7 separate regions of the Homo sapiens genome follow, and regions 1, 2, 3, 4, 5 and 6 are each linked to region 7. The links are contacts of gene promoters, found by promoter capture Hi-C in blood cells and fetal thymus (Javierre and others, 2016). All regions are on one chromosome and are shown on one strand. Each heading gives the region's core, a stretch centred on a gene start or on the middle of the fragment in contact. The rest is flanking DNA. Distances are from core to core; before and after follow the strand shown. Region 1 has its middle 3.7 kb from the start of INO80B-WBP1. Region 2 overlaps RTKN (rhotekin). Region 3 has its middle 8.9 kb from the start of C2orf81. Region 4 overlaps CCDC142 (coiled-coil domain containing 142). Region 5 overlaps DCTN1 (dynactin subunit 1). Region 6 has its middle 5.5 kb from the start of SLC4A5. Region 7 holds the start of STAMBP (STAM binding protein).

Region 1 (3,109 bases), core at 196-2,695, 620 kb before region 7:
GAGGGATCACTTGCAATTCATATTTGTAGAATACGTTAGAGTTTATAACCTGCCTATATATTCCTTCTCTCCCTTGGCCCCCACAGCATCTCCATAAGGGAGATACCATTGTTTCCATCTTATAAATGAGGAAACTGAGGCTCAGAAAAAGAAATGTTTTTGCCAAAGTCACAAAGTTAGGGAGTGGCAGAGCCAGACTCAAACAGAGGCTTCCTGACACCTGGCCCAGTGGTGTTTCCTCTGCATCATGATGCCCAGCAGGGAGGAAGTGGCAACAGTAAGTGACAACTGGCTTCATTATTTTGTTTGTTTTTAGTTTTGCTTTGTTTAGAGTGAGAGAGATTTGAGCATGTTTGTAGGCTGAGAGGCACTCTTCTTTCTGAAAGACTTCTTAGTCGTATTTTAAAAAATTATTTTGAAATAACTTCAAACAGAAAAATTGCAAGATGAATACAAAGAACTCTCTCTAATAAAGTTTTTGTTTCGTTTTGTTTTTGAGACAGGGTCTAGCTCTGTCTCCCAGGCTGGAATGCAGTGGCGCAAACACGGCTCACTGCAGCCTCAAACTCCCAGGCTTGAGTGATCCTCCCACCTCAGCCTCCCAAGTAGCTGGGACTACAGCTACACACCACCAAGCTTAGCTAATTCTTTTTTTTTTTTTTTTTTTTTTTTTTTTTTTTTTGTAGGGACAAGGTTTGGCCATGTTGCCCAGGCTGGTCTCAAACTCCTGAGCTCAAACGATCCTTCTGCCTCAGCCTCCCAAAGTGCTGGGATTACAGGTGTGAGTCACAGTGCCGGGCCAAAACTTTCTTATCTCCTTAAACATTCCATGTGTTTCAGGTTAACATGGAATGCCCGACATGGTTGGCGGGTGGGGCAGATTCTGAAATTTTTTTTTTTTTTTTTTTTGAGACGGAGTCTCGCTCTGTCACCCAGGCTGGAGTGTCGTGGTGCGATCTCGGCTCACTGCAAGCTCTGCCTCCCAGGTTCACGCCATTCTCTTGCCTCAGCCTCCCGAGTAGCTGGGACTACAGGCGCCCTCTACCACGCCTGGCTAATTTTTTGTATTTTTAGTAGAGACAAGGTTTCACTGTGTTACCCCAGATGGTCTTGATCTCCTGACCTTGTGATATGCCCGCCTCAGCCTCCCAAAGTGCTGGGATTACAGGTGTGAGCCACCGCGCCCGGCGAGATTCTGAAATTGTTAATATTTATCTGTGTTTATGCCCATTATCATTGTCAGTGAAAAGAGTCAAACTCTAAAATATTTGAAGAGATTTATTCAGAGCCAAATATGAGTGACCAATGGCCTGTGACACACCCCTCAAGAGATCCTGAGAACATGTGCCCAAAGTGGTCTGACTACAACTTGATTTTATACATTTTAGGGAGACATAAGACATCAATCAATACATGTAAGATGTACGTTGGTTTGGTCTGGAAAGGCAGGACAACTGGAAGATGGGGGCTTCCAGGTATTGTGTAGATGCAAAGGTTTTCTGATTGGCAATTGGTTGAAAGAGTTAAATTATTGGCTGGCTGTGGTGGCTCACACCTCTAATCCCAGCACTTTGGGAGGCCGAGGCGGGTGGATCACCTGAGGCCAGGAGTTTGAGACCAGCCTGGCCAACATGGTGAAACCCCATCTCAACTAAAAATACAAAAATTAGCTGGACATGGTGGCACATACCTGTAACCCCAGCTACTAGAGAGGCTGAGACAAGAGAATTGCTTGAACCCAGGAGGCAGAGTTTGCCGTGAGCTGACATCGAGCCATTGGACTCCAGCCTGGGCAAAAAGAGCAAAACTCCATCTCAAAAAAAGAAAAAAAAAGCGTTAAATTATTGTCTAGAGACTTGGAATCAATAGAAAGGAATGTCTGGTTGAGATAAGGGGTTGTGGAGACCAAGATTTTATCATTCAAGTGAAGCATCCAGGTAGCCAACTTCACAGAGAATACACTGTAAATGTTTCTTATCAGACTTAAAGAGTCTGTTATATCAGTAATTGCAAAAGGGAGGAGGGTATAACAAGGCATGTCCAGCTCCCCCTTTCCCATCATGGCCCATACTAGTTTTTCAGGTTAACATGGAATGGCCCAACATGGTTGGGGGACTCAGAATTTTATTTTTGGTTTACATCATTATTCTTTTTCTGATCAACATGATAGCAAGTTGCAGACATGATGTCATTTCACCCCTAAATCATGCAGTGTGTACTTCCCTCAAACAAGCACAGTTTTCTATAAGCTTTGTGCAACTGTCCCAATCAGGAAATTAACCTGATACATCATTAATCCAGACCCCATTCAAATTTCACCAACTGTGAAATACCTCCTTTTTCTTTTCTTTTTTTTGACACGGAGCCTTGCTCTGTTGCCCAGGCTGGAGTGCAGTGGCACAATCTCGGCTCACTGCAACCTCCACCTCCTGGGATCAAGCAATTCTCTGCCTCAGTCTCCTAAGTAGCTGGAATTACAGGCTCCTACTACCACCCCTAGCTAATTTTTGTATTTTTAGTACAGATGAGGTTTCACCGTGTTGGCCAGGCTGGTCTTGAACTCCTGACCTTGTGATCCACCTGCCTCAGCCTCCCAAAGCGCTGAGATCACAGGCATGAGCCACCGCGCCTGGCCTCGTTTTTTTTTTTTTTTTTTTTGAGACGTAGTTTTGCTCTTGTTGCCCAGGCTGGAGTGCAATGGTGCAATCTCCGCTCACCGCAACCTCCGCCTTGCGAGTTCAAGCAATTCTACTGCCTCAGCCTCCCAAGTAGCTGGGATTACAGGCATGCGCTAATTTTGTATTTTTAGTAGAGATGGGGTTTCTCCTTGTTGGTCAGGCTGGTCTCGAACTCCCAACATGATCTACCCACCTCGGCCTCCCAAAGTGCTGGGATTAAAGGCGTGAGCCACTGTGCCTGGTCCTCCTTTTTGTTTTTATCCAGGATCCAAATTTAGGATCATTTATTACATTTTTAAATTAAGTCTCTTTAATCTGTTTTAATCTGGAACATTTCTTCACTTTTACCCGGTCTTTCATGACCTTGACAAATTTAAAGGGTAGAAGTCTTTAATTCTATAGGATGCCCATCAATGTGGGTCTGTCTGGTG
Region 2 (2,939 bases), core at 438-2,937, 610 kb before region 7:
AAAAGTCCGGCCTAGCACAGTGGCCCAGAAAATAGCCAAGGAAGCATCTGTAGGCAGGCAGGACAAGGCTTTTTAGAAGAGGGAATTTAGGGTGTTCGGGTCTGAGAGACTTGAAGGCTGGAGCCACTAGGGACAGATGCAAGGGCACAGTGTATGGAGGAGAGCTGGTGTGAGGAAAAAGACAGGTTTGGAGTGGTCACATTAGTTCCCCTGTTTCAAATGGATGGCTCGACTTGTCTCCTGAACCAATCTGTACACTGTGATAGAGTTAGTCTTCCAACTCCTCTCTGAAGCTTTCCTTGATCACCTCAGCCAGAAGCAAACAGAGGCTGTTTCTTGTGAGCATGGTTGTGCCATGACATGGCACTTATGGAGCAGCCATTAAAGTCATCATCTCTCACCTCCCAGCTGGATTTTAAATGTACAACCTTGGACAGTACAGGGATGCTCCAGTGTTGACTGAGTAAATGCTGCTACCACCAAAGTATAGCGTCATTAAAATAAGCATCCCTGCCATTAATGTATACCACATGCTGGGCACTGTGCTAAGTGCTTTAAGTTCCTGCCTCACAGAATTCTCACAGCCCTAGGACTATTTCCATTCCTGATTTACAGATGGGGAAACTGAGGCTTAGGGAGGTTGAGCAAATTGCCCATTGCTTTTTAAGAAGCAGGACCTCCAGGGCTCCTTTCTAAATGAATGTTCCTGAGAATCCTGGTGTCTCTTCCAGGGCCTCTCAGCTGGCCCTTATCCACAGTCCCTCATTCCTGGACCACCTACCTTCCCATCCCCATTCCTTGCCTCTGACCTCATCTCCCAAGCTCAGAGGGCCGGTAGGTGGTGATTCTCTTAATTTGGGGTGTATAGGTTTCTGTGCAGCGTCAGTGAACACTGTAGGTGGTATGCTCCTTGTCCACTGATCCCTTGCCAACTAGATGTCCCTGGCATCACTTGAGTCTGAGGGATAACTCTCATTTGCCTTTCCTTCTGTCCATTCCCATGAGTTGGTGGTTCTCAACCTGGGTGTACCTCAGAATCACTTGGGGAGTTTTCCAAAAGTACATATGCCCCACTCCTAGAGATTCTTATTCTGCAAATCTTAGGTAGGGCCTGATCATTTTTTTTTAAACTCCAAAGATCTAATATTTTTTAAAGGAAATACAATTTCCAGTAGTACAAAGGGTATATATAAAGTATCATTAGGCTGGGCGCAGTGGCTCAAGCCTGTAATCCCGCACTTTGGGAGGCCGAGGTGGGAGGATCACTTGAGGCCAGGAGTTCGAGACTAGTCTGGCCAACATGGCGAAACCCTGTCTCTACTAAGAATACAAAAGTTAGGCCAGGCATGGTGTCTCACACCTGCAATCCCAGCACTTTGGGAGGCCAAGGCGGGTGGATCACCTGAGGTCGGGAGTTTGAGACCAGCCTGGCCAACATGGTGCAACCCCGTCTCTACTAAAAATACAAAAATTAGCTGGGTGTGGTGGCTCACACCTGTAATCCCAGCTACTCCGGAGGCTAGGCAGAAGAATTGCTTGAACCTGGGAGGCGGAGTTTGCAGTGAGCCGAGATCATGCCACTTCACTCCAGCCTGGGCAACAGAGTAAGACTCGGTCTCAAAAAAAAAAAAAAAAAAGAATACAAAACTTACTCGGGCGTGGTGGCACATGCCTGTAATCTCAGCTACTCAGGAGGCTGAGGCACAAGAATCACTTGAACCTGGAAGGTGGAAGTTGCAGTGAGCTGAGATCGCGCCACTGTACTCCAGCTTGGGTGACAGAGTGAGACTCGGTCTCAAAAAAAAAAAAGTATCATAAATGTTTTCCATCCCTGGCTCCCAGGCCTACAATCACTAATATTTTATGCATAAACATGCATATCTATATCTATGTATATATATGCATGCATACATATATATATATCATGCACAAATGGTAGTATGTGCAATACTACCCTTCTTTTCTCACATCATTTATTTTGGAGATTGTTTCATATCTGCATACATGTGCATATCTCTTTCCTTAATGTCTGCAATACTACAGGGTACAGATGTACTGTTACTTATTTAACCAATGTCCTACTGAAGGGGTTTTAATTTTGGTGTTTAAAACAATGCCACAATGAGGCCGGGCGCGGTGGCTCACGCCTGTAATCCCAGCACTTTGGGAGGCCGAGGTGGGCGGATCACAAGGTCAGGAGATCGAGACCATCCCGGTTAACACTGTGAAACCCCGTCTCTACTAAAAATACAAAAAAACAATTAGCCGGATGTGGTGGCGGGCGCCTGTAGTCCCAGCTACTTGGGAGGCTGAGGCAGGAGAATGGCATGAACCCCAGGAGGTGGAGCTTGCAGTGAACTGAGATCGTACCACTGCACTCCAGCTTGGGCAACAGAGCGAGACTCCGTCTCAAAAAAAAAAAAAAATGCCGCACTGAATATTTTTGTATGTATGGCTTTACCTAGATATATGTGAAATTATATGTGTAAGATAAACTGCTAGGTATTGGATAGCTGAATTAAAGGATATATGAATTTGTAGTTTTCATAGATTTTTTTCCAAATTGCACTCAAAAGAGGCTGAAGGAATTTATACTTCCAACCATCAAATGCATGAGGGCATCTCTATTTTTCTTATTTGTTTTATATATATATATATATGTTTTTTTTTTTTTTGAGCCAGAGTCTTGCTCTGTCGTCCAGGCTGGGGTGCAGTGGTGCAGTCTCGGCTCACTGCAAGCTCCGCCTCCCGGGTTCATGCCATTCTCCTGCCTCAGCCTCCCAAGTAGCTGGGACTACAGGCGCCCGCCACCACGCCCTGCTAATTTTTTGTATTTTTAGTAGAGACGGGGTTTCACCGTGTTAGCCGGGATGGTCTCGATCTCCTGGCCTTGTGATCCGCCTGCCTCTGCCTCCCAAAGTGCTGGGATTACAGGCGTG
Region 3 (2,883 bases), core at 1-2,500, 580 kb before region 7:
CTCTCACTGAACCCCAAGGGGAGCAGTTATCCTGCAGGCCTAGAAGAAGATAGAACCAGGGTTCAGGAAATAACCCTCTCGCCACCCTTAGGAGACCCTGCATTAGGGCCAAAGCTGCCCCATTGCAGAGGCATTCTAGAGAAACCCCTGTCCCCCAAAGGAGTAGACATAAGGGCTGCCAGCGGGTCTGGCTCTGTAGAGAGAACTTCGAGTCTCCTTTCAGTAGGGGAGGAAGGAGAAGGCCCCGCATAAGCACAGAGTGATTCGAGATATGAAGAACTTGATTTCTTGCTTCCCTGGTCCCTGGAGCTTGGTCACTTCACCTTAGACTGCAAATCCAAATTTCACTTTTGAAGTTAAGGAGGAACTCTCAAACTCAAACAGTATATTGAACAAACTCAAGAGTCAGTGCCTCCTTAAATTTTATCTTAGGCTCCACACCTGCCTCATTGCTAGTCTCCACTCTGCCCAGATTTATCCTGCACCCACTTCCTCCTACAGCATTTCCCCAGCAGGCCCAGGAAGTTTCTGCTATGTTGCTGTGGGCTGCACTCAGCATCCTGGTCTGGGGCGCTGGCTCTGTCTTCCTTATTCTGGTCTTCTTCAACTACATGTGCAGCTCTGGCAGAAGTCTCATCCCTGGGACCTCCAGTGCTGCTCCACAGATCTGACTGGGAAAATAGCCATAGTGACTGGGGCCAACAGTGGTGAGTGCTCCTCCCACCCTGAATCCTCACTATGGGCCTCAGCCTCCAACAACTCTCACAGGGAAGGCAGGGAGGAGCATCCACTATCAACACCCTTGTCCCTCCCCTAGAGTGTCCCTTGTTCACTGTAGTCACCACCCAGCCGAAGTTGTCCTCCCACAGGCATCGGGAAGGTTGTATCCCAGGACCTAGCTCGGTGTGGGGCCCAAGTGATCCTTACTTGTCAGAGCAGGGAATGTGGACAGCAAGCCCTGGCTGAGATCCAAGCAGCCTCAAACAGCAACCGCCTCCTGCTTGGCGAGGTGGACCTTAGCTCCATGACCTCTATTCGGAGCTTTGCCCGGAGGCTTCTACAGGAGAATCCTGAGATACATCTGCTGGTAAACAATGCTGGAGTCAGTGGTATGTGCCTGGCTTGCTTCTCCAAACATGTTTCTGCAGTCTCCTTTCTAGCTCAGGAACTCTAAAACAGGTATCCTCAAAGCCTAGTCTATGCAATCTTGCCAAAACACTAATCCATACCCTCCCCTAAAAAGCTGACATTGAGTTATAGCCTTAAACTTCATTGCCCCCATCTTCACATGTATGTGCCCCTGTGGCATTTCTGCTGAAGGTAATATGTCCCTCCCAGACCTTGTCTCCCTCAAGGTGGTCCCTTTATCACTCAATGCCAGTGTTTTCATTTCCTCCCAGGATTCCGAAGACACTTACCCCAGGGGGCCTGGATCTCACCTTTGTCACTAACTATGTTGGGCCCTTTCTGCTCACAAATCTACTCCAAGGTAAGGAAGGATGGGCACCTTCTGTGCTGCCCTCTTCCCTATACCCCTGGCATTCTAGTAACTGTCTCCCAGGACCACCTCTTGCCTCTTGGCACCCAGCTGTTTGCTGAGTGGTGACCCAACACACTTTTTGTGTCACACATCAGGGAAGCCCAGCTGGCACAAGTCAGTATTAGAAGGCTGATAGAAGAATCATTCAGCCCAAAATATAATCAGCAAGGGGATATGAGATCCCAGACCTCCTTCTCCCATCCCCTAGTTCTAGCCAGACCAGTAGAGTAGTTTTTGCAATGAAGGCTTCTTGAGGGGGACACTAGGCACCAGAAACAGAGAAAGCAAGAAGACTCAGTTTCTGTTCTCAGGGTCGGCCAGAGGTGTAGGCCATACAGATGATACAGTTGATACATTACTGCCTTGGGCCTAAGTCCTTTGAAGAGGCCCTTTCTGATTGAGAAAGTTTGGCTCCTCCAGGGAAAGTTTCGGGGAGTGGGTGGCAGGAACATTCTCTCTGACATTTTCTCCTAGATTGTATAATAGCCCCTTTATTATTATTATTATTTTTTAATTACTCATCCCCTTGCAATGTGATAGCCTCCTTAAAAGAAAAGCAATTTTTCTTTTGGTCAGGTAATACATATCCAAAGTACAAAATTGAAAGTGTACAAAAGGATACAGAGGGTTTTTTTTTTTAAACTATTTTTCTCTTCTGGTACATAAGCCACCTGTTCCCCTCCTGAGAGGCAACTACTGTTGCCGGAGTCTCACGTATCCTTTAGCAGTCAACTAAATTAATCCCAATTGGAAAGTGAACAAAGGCAAAACTCTATGCACCTGCAAGTATGATTGTTTTTGTCCCTTTCCACAAATTGTAACATGTCACGACACTATCTGCATCTTGCTTAGTGACAGTTTCTTAAACTTCTTTCCTGTCTCATCTTCTCTAATCTATTCTCCCCACTGCCACATCGAGTAATCACCTTTCATCATGACACTTTCTTGCTTAAAATCCTTTGAAGGTAACCTCTCCTTTGTAGGATGAACTCTAAGCCCCTTCTCTACACTTAGAAGGCTGTGTGCTAGGCTGGGTGCAGTAGCTCATGCCTGTAATCCCAGCACTTTGAGAGGCTGAGGTGGGCAAATCACCTGAGGTTGGGAGTTTGAGACCGGCCTGATCAACATGGAGAAACCCCGTCTCTACTAAAAATACAAAATTAGCTGGGCGTGGTGGTGCATGCCTGTAATCCTAGCTACTCGGGAGGCTGAGGCAGGAGAATTGCTTGAACCCGAGAGGTGGAGGTTTCAGTGAGCCAAGACCGCGCCATTGCACTCCAGCCTGGGCAACAAGAGTGAAACTCTGTCTCAAAAAAAAAAAAAAAACCCTCTGCTGACTAAGA
Region 4 (3,119 bases), core at 242-2,741, 650 kb before region 7:
CCACCTCCTGGGCTCAAGCAATCCTCCCACCTCAGCCTCCTGAGTAGCTGGAACCACAGGTGGAAGCCACAATGCCCAGCTACTTTTTTTTTTTTTTTTTTTGAGAAGGTGTCTCACTCTGTCACCCAGGCTGGAGTGCAGTGGCGTGATCTCTACTCACTGCAACCTCCACCTCTCAGGTTCAAGTGATTCTCCTGCCTCAGCCTCCTGAGTGGCTGGGATTACAGGCGCCTGCCACCACGCCCAGCTAGTTTTTGTATTTTTAGTAGAGATGGGTTTCACCATGTTGGCCAGGCTGGTCTGGAACCCTTGACCTCAGGTGATCCACCCACCTCAGCCTCCCAAAGTGCTGGGATTATAGGTGTGAGCCACCACACCCGGCCAATGCCCAGCTACTTAAAAAAATTTTTTTTTTTGTAGAGACAAGGTTTTGCCATGTTGCCCAGGCTGGTCTTGAACCCTTTTTAAAAATCTTTTTAAAAAACTTTTTTGGGAGGCCAAGGTGGGTGGATCGCCTGAGGTCAGGAGTTCAAGACCAGCCTGCCCAACGTGGTGAAACCCCGTCTCTACTAAAAATACAAAAAAGTAGCCGGTATGGTGGCAGGTGCCTGTAATCCTAGCTACTTCTGAGGCTGAGGCAGGAGAATCGCTTGAACCTAGGAGGCGGAAGTTGCAGTGAGCCGAGATAGCGCCATTGCACTCCAGCCTGGGCAACAAGAACAAAAATTCTGTCTCAAAAAAAAAACAGAAAACAAAAAAATTTTTTGTCCAGGTGCAGTGGCTCACACCTGTAATCCCAGCACTTTGGGAAACCGAGGCAGGTGGATCATCTGAGGTTAGGAGATCAAGACCGGCCTGGCCAACATGGTGAAACCCTGTCTCTTCTAAAAATACAAAAATTAGCTGGACATTGTGGTGTACACCTGTAATCCCAGCTACTCGGGAGGCTGAGGCAGGAGAATCACTTGAATCCGGGAGGCGGAGGTTCCAGTGAGTCGAGAGCGTGCCATTGCATTCCAGCCTGGGCAACAGAGTGAGACTCAAAAAAAAAAAAGTATATATATATATTTTATTTATATTATATCTATATATATTTTATTTATATTATATCTATTTATATATATATATATTTTTTTTTTAATTAGAAGTTTGGCTCGTGACATAGCCCTCAGGAGATCTGAGAACATGTGCCCTGTTCTTGAACTCTTGAGCTCAAGCAATCCACCGCCTTGGCCTCCCAAAGTTCTGGGATTACAGGCATGAGCCTCCACACCCAGCCTGGCTCCCAGAGTTCTAGTTAAACATCTGCATTTGCCTGTTGGGCATTTCTACCTCAGTTTACTGCTGTCTACTTAAACTCAACATGCCCCAGAGCAGGCTCATCATGAGTACTGCACACAGTGACGGTCATAGAGCCCTGAGGAAGGAAGGCTATAGTGGGCATGTGGTTAAAGAACGCTCCATACATGGCCTATGGCTGGAGATGGTGGCTGGGAAGCCTCAGAGGAGTGGCTGGGGTTACTGGAAGTGGGCAGTTTGTAGATCCTTGTGGGGGTAGCAGAGAGGTGGCCTTACCAGAGCAGAGGTTCCTTTTGTGGGTATGTTCACTGGGGTTGGGTGTGGGGTAGGGTAGTAAGCAATTTGGCATCAAATTGTGGAGGGCATGAACACCAGCCCCAACAATTTGCGCTTTACCTCATAAGTGAGGGGGTGACATTTTAAGAGCAGAAGGGTGTAATCCCAGCATTTCGGGAGGCCGAGATGGGTGGATAACTTGAGGTCAGGAGTTTGTGACCAGCCTGGCCAACATGGTAAAACCCCATCTCTACTAAAAATACAAAAATTAGCCAGGCATGGTGACGGGTGCCTGTAATCCCAGCTGCTCAGAGGCTGAGGCATGAGAATCGGTTGAACCCAGGAGGCAGAGGTTGCAGTGATCTGAGATTGCGCAACTGCACTCCAGCCTGGGCAATAAGAGCGAAACTTGGTCTCAAAAAAAAAAAAAGAGGCATTGTGAGTTTTCTTCCTGTTTGGACTATAAGATCCCAGTGGGTGGGGGAGAGACTGTCACACACTCTGCACCTTGTATTCCCTCAGTGTTGAGTACAGAGGCTCCTAACAAAAGTCCGTTGACAAAAGGGCAATTTCCTTGACATAAATAAGGGAGGAGAAGGGGGCTTGCATTTACTGGAGAAGAGAGGAAGATTTTGGATTTAGACAGGTTGTCAGATGTGCCAGGAGCCATATGGGCTCCACTCCATGTCTGGCCGCCCCCAGGTCTATCCTGTCTTCAGGCTCCCTGGCATCTACCATTTCTTTACAGAGCAGCTGCCATTAACCACATTTACTGGGGTTCCTCTCCCTCAAGATGGGCTGTAGAGCAGAAACCAGCTTTATTGCTGTGTTCTCTCCCTCCAAAAACAACCTATCAAACCAAAGAAACAAACCCAGCATATAGGCCTTTTCTTGCTTTATGGGTTATATTGCTCTGGAGTGGGCTGTGAAGAATAATAATATATAATAATGCCTTTCAATGTAAGGACATTCCAAAACTTCCTGAGTCTCAGAACATTCAAATAGTCATTGCTTCTGGTTTACATACAGTTCTTGTCTTCCTTTTGTAGGTGATAACCAAAAGATCATTGTAGGCTGGGTGTAGTGGCTTAGTGGCTCACATCTGTAATCCCAGCACTTTGGCAGGCAGAGGCAGGCCGATCACCTGAGATCAGGAGTTTGAGACCAGCCTGACCAACATGGCAAAACCTTGTCTTTACTAAAAATACAAAAATTAGCTGGGTGTGGTGGTGCACTCCTGTAGTCCCACCTACTTGGGAGCCTGAGGCAGGAGAATCACTTGAACCCGGGAGGCAGAGGTTGCAGTGAGCCGAGATCACGCCACTGCACTCCAGTCTGGGCGACACAGCAAGACTCTGCCTCAAAAATAAAAGGTCGTTGTAATTCCCCTTTCTTCCCTCAATTTCTGCCCATTGCAGATCATACAATCCCTCTTTCTGGCATATGCTCTGTGTGTGTGTGTGTGTGTGTGTGTGTGTGTGTGTGTGTGTGTGTGTGTGTGTGTGTGTTGCGGGGGTGGGGGCAGGGTATGTCTTTCTTTTTCC
Region 5 (2,725 bases), core at 151-2,650, 540 kb before region 7:
AAGGATGGGACTGAGAGTATAATGGAGTTGCTAGAATGATCACAAGTGGGTCATAGATGGGGGTTCTAGGGAATAACGGATTCTGCTCTTAAGGGTAGTGCCAGAGCTAGGAGGAATGTGGAGTCAGTGCCAAGCGAGGAGCCTTATAATCTTATGTCTTTCTCTTATCTTTTCCTCCCTCTCTCCTCTGCCTCCATCCTCCCCCTGTCCTTTGTCACTATCTCTCTCTGCCTCTCTGTATCATTTTCCTTGTCCCCTTCATTCTTCTTTTCTCACTGTGCTTTGATACTCTCTTTCTGCTTTTTCCCTTTTCTGTCTCCTTCCCTTGCCATATTCTCATATTCTGTTTCTGTTCCTCTTACTACCCCTATCCTCTGCTTTCTTTCTGGTCTGCCTCTACCCTTTCTGAATAGCCCACGCGCCCAGCCAGTACTGGGGTGGCTGGGGCCAGTAGCTCCCTGGGCCCCTCTGGCTCAGCGTCAGCAGGTGAGCTGAGCAGCAGTGAGCCCAGCACCCCGGCTCAGACTCCGCTGGCAGCACCCATCATCCCCACGCCGGTCCTCACCTCTCCTGGAGCAGTCCCCCCGCTTCCTTCCCCATCCAAGGTAAGGCCTGGGGTAGGGGTAAAGGAGAATCAAGACACCCAGAGGCTTGTGGCTACCCGCTGTGTCTTGAAAATTTCCTGGGGTTGGCAAAGACCTAGAACTTGGATCAGAAAGGGTGAGGACATAGCCTATGGATATCTTGCTACTGACTGAGCCATCCTTTCCTTTCTTGCCCTTATGCCATACTTTCCCCATATATACTGTGCTACGGTTTCCTCTCAGATGTTCTTATGCCACTGACTGTTGGCCACCCTGGGGCTGGGTGATGTTTGCACACTTTCTTGTGTTCTTTGCGCCAGCTCAGTGTTGGTGGAGAGGAGGAGTGGGCTGTGCACAGACCGTGAGGCCTCTCCTTTGCAGGAGGAGGAGGGACTAAGGGCTCAGGTGCGGGACCTGGAGGAGAAACTAGAGACCCTGAGACTGAAACGGGCAGAAGACAAAGCAAAGCTAAAAGAGCTGGAGAAACACAAAATCCAGCTGGAGCAGGTGCAGGAATGGAAGAGCAAAATGCAGGAGCAGCAGGCCGACCTGCAGCGGCGCCTCAAGGAGGCGAGAAAGGTTTGACTCTGGATGAAGGGGGTGGCTGGGGCAGCCTGAGACCTAAGGAAGCATGCTGGAAACTAGACTGGAGCTGGAGCCTGGAACATACTGTGAGAAAGGCCTGGGGCATCTCTGTGCTGGTACCCCCTCCCACCTCCACTTCTTCCTCAGGAAGCCAAGGAGGCGCTGGAGGCAAAGGAACGCTATATGGAGGAGATGGCTGATACTGCTGATGCCATTGAGATGGCCACTTTGGACAAGGAGATGGCTGAAGAGCGGGCTGAGTCCCTGCAGCAGGAGGTGGAGGCACTGAAGGAGCGGGTGGACGAGCTCACTACTGACTTAGAGATCCTCAAGGCTGAGATTGAAGAGAAGGGTAAGGGGCCCACAGCTGCTGGGGGCCAAACGGTCAGGTGAGAACCATGCCTGAAAGTGTTAATGATCTTCTCCAGGCTCAGATGGCGCTGCATCCAGTTATCAGCTCAAGCAGCTTGAGGAGCAGAATGCCCGCCTGAAGGATGCCCTGGTGAGGTAGGGTCTTCAGTGCTTGCCTCTGATGCTTACTCTTGTGTCTCCAAATGTGTTAGAGCACCCATCGCCAGAGACTCTGACACGTGCTTTCCTCCTTCTGCCTTCCTCACATCCCTGCAGGATGCGGGATCTTTCTTCCTCAGAGAAGCAGGAGCATGTGAAGCTCCAGAAGCTCATGGAAAAGAAGAACCAAGAGCTGGAAGTTGTGAGGCAACAGCGGGAGCGTCTGCAGGAGGAGCTAAGCCAGGCAGAGAGCACCATTGATGAGCTCAAGGAGCAGGTCTGGGGAGCCCAGCCCCTCACCCAGAATCCCCCACCTGACTCTCCTATCAGTTGATGCCTCCTCTTTCTAGGTACCTTCCAGCAGCCCTTCTCCCTATCCTCCCCGTAACACAGGTGGATGCTGCTCTGGGTGCTGAGGAGATGGTGGAGATGCTGACAGATCGGAACCTGAATCTGGAAGAGAAAGTGCGCGAGTTGAGGGAGACTGTGGGAGACTTGGTAAGAGAAGAGCAGACCCCTGACATCTGACTTGGACCTGCTGAGAAAAAGATTGACATGTGACCCTTGGCCTTTGAGCAGGGTGTGCGGTGAGGGACCCAGCCTGGGCTTGCTACCCTGACCCTGCCTTTTTTTTTTTTTTTTTTTTCTGAGATGGAATCTCGCTCTGTTGCCAGGCTGGAGCGCAGTGGCGCAATAATCTCGGCTCACTGCAACCTCCGCCTCCCAGGTTCAAGCGATTCTCCTGCCTCAGCCTCCCGAGTAGCTGGTACTACAGGCATGCGCCACCATACCCAGCTAATTTTTGTATTTTTAGTAGAGATGGGGTTTCACCATGTTGGCCAGCATGATCTCGATCTCGACCTCATGATCCGCCTGCTTTGACCTCCCAAAGTGCTGGGATTACAGGTGTGAACCACCGCCGCTGGCCGACCCTGCCTTTCTTTAGCCCAAACTATGGTGTGGTGTCCTAGGAAGCGATGAATGAGATGAACGATGAGCTGCAGGAGAATGCACGTGAGACAGAACTGGAGCTGCGGGAGCAGCTG
Region 6 (2,750 bases), core at 181-2,680, 520 kb before region 7:
ACCTGCTCAGTGTCATCCTAGAACCACATTACAAAGTAGAAGCTGTAATCTTTCACTGTCTCAGCAGTGTCAGCGTATTGTTCTACTGGTGCCCGAGCAAAGAGCTCTCCTGATATTTTATACTTGAGTTGACATAGGCAGTCTTCCCTTTTGAAGACTAAGCAGGCTGGTCCACATTCCAGCCTGTAGCCATTGTTGGAGGCCTGGGGCAGAATCTAGTAGACATTGACACCAGCTAAGATAGGCTTGTACCGTGCCTTGGGCTGCCATCTTGGCTCTCTGCCCTTTGTGACCTCCAGATGACGTTGGGAGTAAATTGAGGCCTCCAGTCCAGTCTCTTGCTTAGAAACATCTCCTCCTCCTTCTCATCATCATCTCTTTCTCTCTTTCAGAGAAGGGCTTTGCTATGTTGCCAAGGCTGGAATGCAGTGGCCATTCACAGGCAGTCTAGGTTCGTTCTTGCTTGATTTTTCCTTATAATTTATTTGTTGAAAGAACTATTTCTCAGAATCTGGATTTTCTTAAAATGCATCCTCATGGTGTTAATAAGTTCCTCTGTCTTCTCCATTTTCTGTAAATTATTAGTTGGGTTTAGAGCAGTGATTTTCTGACTAACAGCATCAGCATCATCTGGGAATTGTAGGAAATGGTAATTCCTACTCATCCCAGAGAAGCTGGCCATAAAAGTCACCATCTTGGTGAGACCTAGCATCTCAATTCTGTGAAGTCACCCATTGAAAGAGATCAAAACAATTGGAGTGGAGAGGGGTGAAATATTGGATGAGGTAGTGGTTGGTCTCTTGATGGTATGGCATGCCTGTTATTTCTATGTTTTCATTTCATATCAATCAAAAATTGGGGTTTTTGCATAACAGATGGAATGCAAAAAAGAAAAAAAAAGGAGTGTTGAACTTATGGTTAAACAGTTAACTTAGCTGATTTAATGTACTTTAAAGACTACGTTATTACTAATGGTTTAGTGTTCCCTGCCCTTGACAGAGACACAAGGAGAAAAGTGTTCACTCTCCCTGAGTGCTTAGACTACTATTTGACCCTTTCTAGAAGACAAGGGAATTCAGATAGGGCAGACTGTCCTCCCTCAGAGATTGGAGTTTTAGTTACCTACATATTTGACAGCCAAAGACACTTGATTTGGAAAGATCCTTGGCTGGGCCCTCTAGCTGCAGCCATGGCTAGTTAAGTTTCCACAGAGAGTACAAGCCAGGCTTGCCTTGCCAGAAGAGACCCTTCTGATCTTTGTAGAAAAGATCAGCCCAGGACTGGCCATCTGGCAGGTAATCAGGACCTACTCAAACAATTGAGCAAGGAACAATAGGTGGAACTGAACCCTCATGAACTCATGGAGTAAACTCTAAGCCTCAGTGAACAAAATCTGAGATAAATCACTTGTAACTCATCTTGGTATTCCTTTGTAAAAAGCAAAAAGCAAAGGATAGACTATGCATTTGACAACATAGAACTGAAAACCTAGATATATATTTAAATTTAAAAAAATGTAAACACACATTTTAAGAAGTGAATTTTTAAAAACGCAAAAAGAAACACTTAGATTAACAAATGATAAAACATGACCACACCATTTTACAAAATTTTTATACTTTTTTTTTTTTGAGACAGAATCTCGCACTGTCGCCTAGGCTGGAGTGCAATGACGCAATCTCGGCTCACTGCAACCTCCGCCTCCCAGGTTCAGGTGATTCTCCTGCCTCAGCCTCCCAAGTAGCTGGGTTACAGGCTCACAACCACCACCCCCGGCTAATTTTTTGTATTTTTAGTAGAGATGGGGTTTCACTATGTTGGCCAGACTGATCTTGAACTCCTGACCTTGTGATCCACCCGCCTTGGCCTCCCAAAGTGCTGGGATTACAGGCGTGAGCCACTGCACCTGTCCAGTTTTTATACATATTAACATAGTGATATTGGAAATTCATTTTTCAGTGGAAAAAAAATGCTCTCTATTTTGGAAAGTAGGTAGTTGGGCTCCTGTTTTAAATGAAGACATGTTATCTGAAAAATTAACATGCTGTGTAAGTTCAGTGAGGAGGCAAGGGGAGTGAAGAAGGGTGAAGAGACCAGAACATACCCATTCCACTACCAGTGGACATTTGGGTTGCTTCCGAGTTCAGGTACCTCCAAACCATGCTATATAAATATCCTCCCTTGTTCATGTGCTTTGGCACGCATATGCAAAAGTTTCTGTAAGGAGTTAAATTGCTTCGTCATTCCTTATGAGTATTTTCATCTTTATTAAATATTGCCACATTGTTTTTGCAGAGTGGCTGTACTGGTTTACAGCCTCATCAGCAGGATAGGTCCCCTTGGCGGGATTCCAGTCTGCCCCTTTGGGGAGGAGGGTGTAGCAGGGAGAGAAATAAGGCTGGCAAGGAATGAGAAAGCCAGGCAGGAGAACACCATTAGTGCCAATCCAAGGAGTTCAGACTGTATTTGACTGCATTGGGAAGCTACTGGCAATTCTGGAACAGGGAACAAAATGCAAAAACAGGGTTTTGGGAAGGTTAGTCTTTAAAGCTGTCTCTTGGTTTGTGTTGGCAGTTGGTAGTGATAGTGGTGGGGTTGACTTAGGCCAGCAGCAGGACTCAAGCTCACAGGAGAGAGATCTGTAGGGTGACAGCACAAAGGGGACAGTGAGCACATCCCTGGGGGCAGAAAACCAGAGCATCCCAGATCTCCCAACTCTTATCCTTAAATAATCCAGTTAGACACACACA
Region 7 (2,854 bases), core at 38-2,537:
TCAATCTATAAAATCATTCATTCATCATTATCATGGCAAGAGACTTAAATCTTGAAAACAACCATTTACTCATCTTCATAGACTAAACACTGAATAACAAAAAGGCACGATGGTAACTTGCATTGCAAAAACCCCTGGTGTCCCAAAACTCCAGTAATTCTAGTCTTTCTAGATATAGTTGCTGTTAGAATCAGATTCCAAATTCCAACCAGATATCACCACTATCATCTCCAAAATAAAACTGGGCATTTGACACACATTGCATTACAGCAAACCCTAATCAGTATGCTCTAGAATACACAAACTACAGTAGAATAAATCTTGGAATTCAAGGCCCTGTGGCAACTGGCCCTCCCCAACAGAGATCTTTTGCTTCAGTCAGGATTCCAATCCGCCCAGGCATCCTCACATTTCAGTTTCATTTATCTATCCAGTTTTTCTTTTCTACTACAACTCTTCCCTCAGGGGTAGTCTTCTCTCAGCCAATTCCATCTTTAGGTCTCTTCAATATTCGGGTCACAATTCCTCCACAAACCTTCCCCTCTAAAACACCCTCACTAATAGCACAAAAGCCGTGAGGACTACTAGGGATGCAGAGATAGTCCATCTCTCACGAGGCCTCCTTAGGGACTCAGAAAGCCGCAAGCATATCTAAAACCTCCCCAAGTAATTAGTAAACCTAGTCCACGGCCCATGAAAGTTAACTGAAACAGAGGATGCTTGTTGCATCTCAGTACCTCTTGGGAGAGGTTCTTGTGGGTTAAGAAAGGAACCACCTCCCAAGGCCAGGAAGCGGCGCCGGTTACCACCTGGTTGAGCAATTCCAAAAAGGGGATGCAGCATCTGCAAATGAGGGGGAAAGGCGGCGTAAAGGACCGAGGGGGAAATACGAGGAGGAGAAAGGAAGTAGCAGGAATGAGCGGAGGGGGCGTATACAGTAGGGAGGGCTCTATCGACAACTGCTTGAGGAACCCTTCTTGAAGGCACTCAAGACGAACTTGCCAACCCCAGGCACAATCATCCAGGGTTTTCGGGATCTTTCAAATGCAGTAGGCGGGGAACCGCTGGGCCTGGCTGGTCAGGCGCCAGCCCGCGGAGACAGAAGCCGTCGGGTGCCTCGAGCGAGGCAGGCCGGGCAGGGGACTCGGGGAGAGTAGGCTGCAGGCCCCACACTCACGGCGGCCGATCCCCTTCAAAGTCCAACCACGCTCGGAGGCCCTGCCCCACCACGTTCCCGGGACCCTTCCCCACCTTTCCCCGCGGATGACACCCGGAGGTTCCGGAAACGTCACATCCGGCGCCCGCTCCGCCCACTCCCGTTCGTCTGTCTATTACATTCCCAGTGATTTAGGACTTGGAACGGAGAGCTAGTAGGTGGGGCTAGAATCGGCACCTGCGGAAAATCCGACCAATGAGGAGCGAACGACACAGCGGCCATCTTGGTAAAGGAAAAGGAACAAGGAAGAAAGTGGAACCAATTAGCAAGCTAAGGTTTGCTTTTAAAATTATTTTGATTTGGGGTAGTCCCTCATCACACTCACAATACTCCTGCATTTAAGGAGGGATTGCTGATCCCAGCACAACTGCAGACTTAGCTAAACTAACCAGGATTTATAAATTGGGGGACAGAAAGTCTTTCGAATGTATTTTTTAGCTTGTATTACATTCTACACAAAAATTGGTAGTCTTAGATATTAGGCAATATCTAAGACTAATTTTATTGCTTAGAAAAGAACATAAGTCTAACTTTTTTTTTTTTTAAGACAGGGTCTTGCGGTGTCACCCAGGCTGTCACAGGAGTGCAGTGGTGTGATCATAGCTCACTGTGGTCTCCAACTTCAGGGCTCAAGCGATCTTCTTGCCTCTGCCTCCCAAAGTACTGGGATTACTGGCGTGTGCCACCGCACCCAGATGAGACTAACGTTTTAATGTCAAAAAACCTATAAAATATTTGGAAAAAAAGCGTTTAATCTCTAAGAGCCGCTATGCAAAAGCAGTGGAGACACAAAAATCTGTATGACACTGTTCCTGCCCTGAGACCGGGACAAGGTGGTTTTATGCATCAAATACAGAATGGCACGTTCTGCATGTAGATGTGTGTCTGTACGAATCCATATACATCCTCTTTACAAAAAGGTCCTACAAGCTTGCTAATCATTCTGTCTCAGAAGACTTTGTGAAACATTAGGCTTTGGTTTAAAAGTCTAAGTCTCTGGGGGACACTTTCCCAAAATTTGGGAGCCTCCCTGTGAGTTTGTTAGTGTGATGGCATGACCTATTCTTCAAGGTCTAGCTTAAATCCCTAATTCAGGTGTTGCCTCCTCCACCTAGCCAGCCTCCAGATCTCTCATTTCTCCCAACCTCCGTTGTGTATATTTCTGTTGGAGTTACCTGAAGTGATTTTGTGTAGTCATCAACTTTTCAGACTTAGGGTTGAAAGTACTTGCTTGCATCATATCACCTCCCCTTCTGCCCCCAGCAAGCATTAATGTGCATGGGTCTACTATCAACTCTCATGGATCTACTGCAGATAAATCTGGGAAGATAATTGTATAGGGCACTCTACTGTGTCTTCAAAACTCTCTCTACTGACTCTCTTCAGAATGTAAACATGATGGGTTGGGCCTAAAGAAATTGATGCACTGGAGATGCTGGTCATTGGGTGGGCATTATAGTGCAGATGGGGTCCTGGCAGGAGGCAACACAGGTCAAAATCTGATCCATTCAACCTCTCACTCAGTAAATGTTTACTGAGTGTCTACTATGTGCCAGGTTCTGTTCTAGGTGTTAGGGATACATCAGCAAACAAACCCAGCAGGTGGATACTCTAATGGTGGAAGCACAGGTAGAAGTA

What was found. The method cuts DNA at HindIII sites, captures the fragments that hold promoters and counts their contacts. A CHiCAGO score of 5 or more calls a contact.
Region 1: a contact is called between a fragment that was not itself captured here and the fragment with the promoter of STAMBP in region 7, in 1 of 17 cell types (fetal thymus). The highest score is 7.1, in fetal thymus.
Region 2: a fragment that was not itself captured here is called in contact with the fragment with the promoter of STAMBP in region 7 in 1 of 17 cell types (naive CD8 T cells); the score reaches 5.4 in naive CD8 T cells.
Region 3: a fragment that was not itself captured here is called in contact with the fragment with the promoter of STAMBP in region 7 in 12 of 17 cell types (non-activated CD4 T cells, total CD8 T cells, total B cells and 9 more); the score reaches 10.2 in non-activated CD4 T cells.
Region 4: a contact is called between a fragment that was not itself captured here and the fragment with the promoter of STAMBP in region 7, in 8 of 17 cell types (non-activated CD4 T cells, activated CD4 T cells, total CD4 T cells and 5 more). The highest score is 7.8, in non-activated CD4 T cells.
Region 5: a fragment that was not itself captured here is called in contact with the fragment with the promoter of STAMBP in region 7 in 10 of 17 cell types (naive CD8 T cells, total B cells, non-activated CD4 T cells and 7 more); the score reaches 9.4 in naive CD8 T cells.
Region 6: a contact is called between a fragment that was not itself captured here and the fragment with the promoter of STAMBP in region 7, in 1 of 17 cell types (total B cells). The highest score is 5.4, in total B cells.

The regions. Positions count from the first base shown.
Region 1 is chr2:74,449,788-74,452,896 of GRCh38, reverse strand. No RefSeq gene overlaps it. Among named protein-coding and RNA genes, the nearest start is that of INO80B-WBP1, 3.7 kb to the left of the region's middle. The HindIII fragment of the contact is 1,613 bases long and covers 639-2,251 here.
Region 2 is chr2:74,432,979-74,435,917 of GRCh38, reverse strand. All of the region lies in intron 1 of RTKN (rhotekin), which reads left to right. Among named protein-coding and RNA genes, the nearest start is that of RTKN, 7.5 kb to the left of the region's middle. The HindIII fragment of the contact is 2,783 bases long and covers 296-2,939 here.
Region 3 is chr2:74,411,254-74,414,136 of GRCh38, reverse strand. No RefSeq gene overlaps it. Among named protein-coding and RNA genes, the nearest start is that of C2orf81, 8.9 kb to the left of the region's middle. The HindIII fragment of the contact is 6,860 bases long and covers 1-2,883 here.
Region 4 is chr2:74,476,009-74,479,127 of GRCh38, reverse strand. The region is part of intron 5 of CCDC142 (coiled-coil domain containing 142); the gene reads left to right. Among named protein-coding and RNA genes, the nearest start is that of MRPL53, 4.9 kb to the right of the region's middle. The HindIII fragment of the contact is 6,387 bases long and covers 1-3,119 here.
Region 5 is chr2:74,369,417-74,372,141 of GRCh38, reverse strand. DCTN1 (dynactin subunit 1) reads left to right here. Exons shown (of 32, transcript NM_004082.5): 8 at 414-605; 9 at 966-1,163; 10 at 1,317-1,521; 11 at 1,598-1,676; 12 at 1,797-1,956; 13 at 2,073-2,177; 14 at 2,651-2,725. Among named protein-coding and RNA genes, the nearest start is that of DCTN1, 9.5 kb to the left of the region's middle. The HindIII fragment of the contact is 6,181 bases long and covers 1-2,725 here.
Region 6 is chr2:74,347,551-74,350,300 of GRCh38, reverse strand. It overlaps the pseudogene NECAP1P2. Among named protein-coding and RNA genes, the nearest start is that of SLC4A5, 5.5 kb to the right of the region's middle. The HindIII fragment of the contact is 7,558 bases long and covers 1-2,750 here.
Region 7 is chr2:73,827,394-73,830,247 of GRCh38, reverse strand. It overlaps STAMBP (STAM binding protein), which reads right to left and starts at 1,287. Exons shown (of 10, transcript NM_213622.4): 1 at 738-1,287. It overlaps LOC105374807 (a long non-coding RNA gene), which reads left to right. Exons shown (of 3, transcript XR_940246.3): 2 at 1,344-1,491. RefSeq lists a silencer at 1,298-1,516. The HindIII fragment of the contact is 5,447 bases long and covers 1-2,148 here.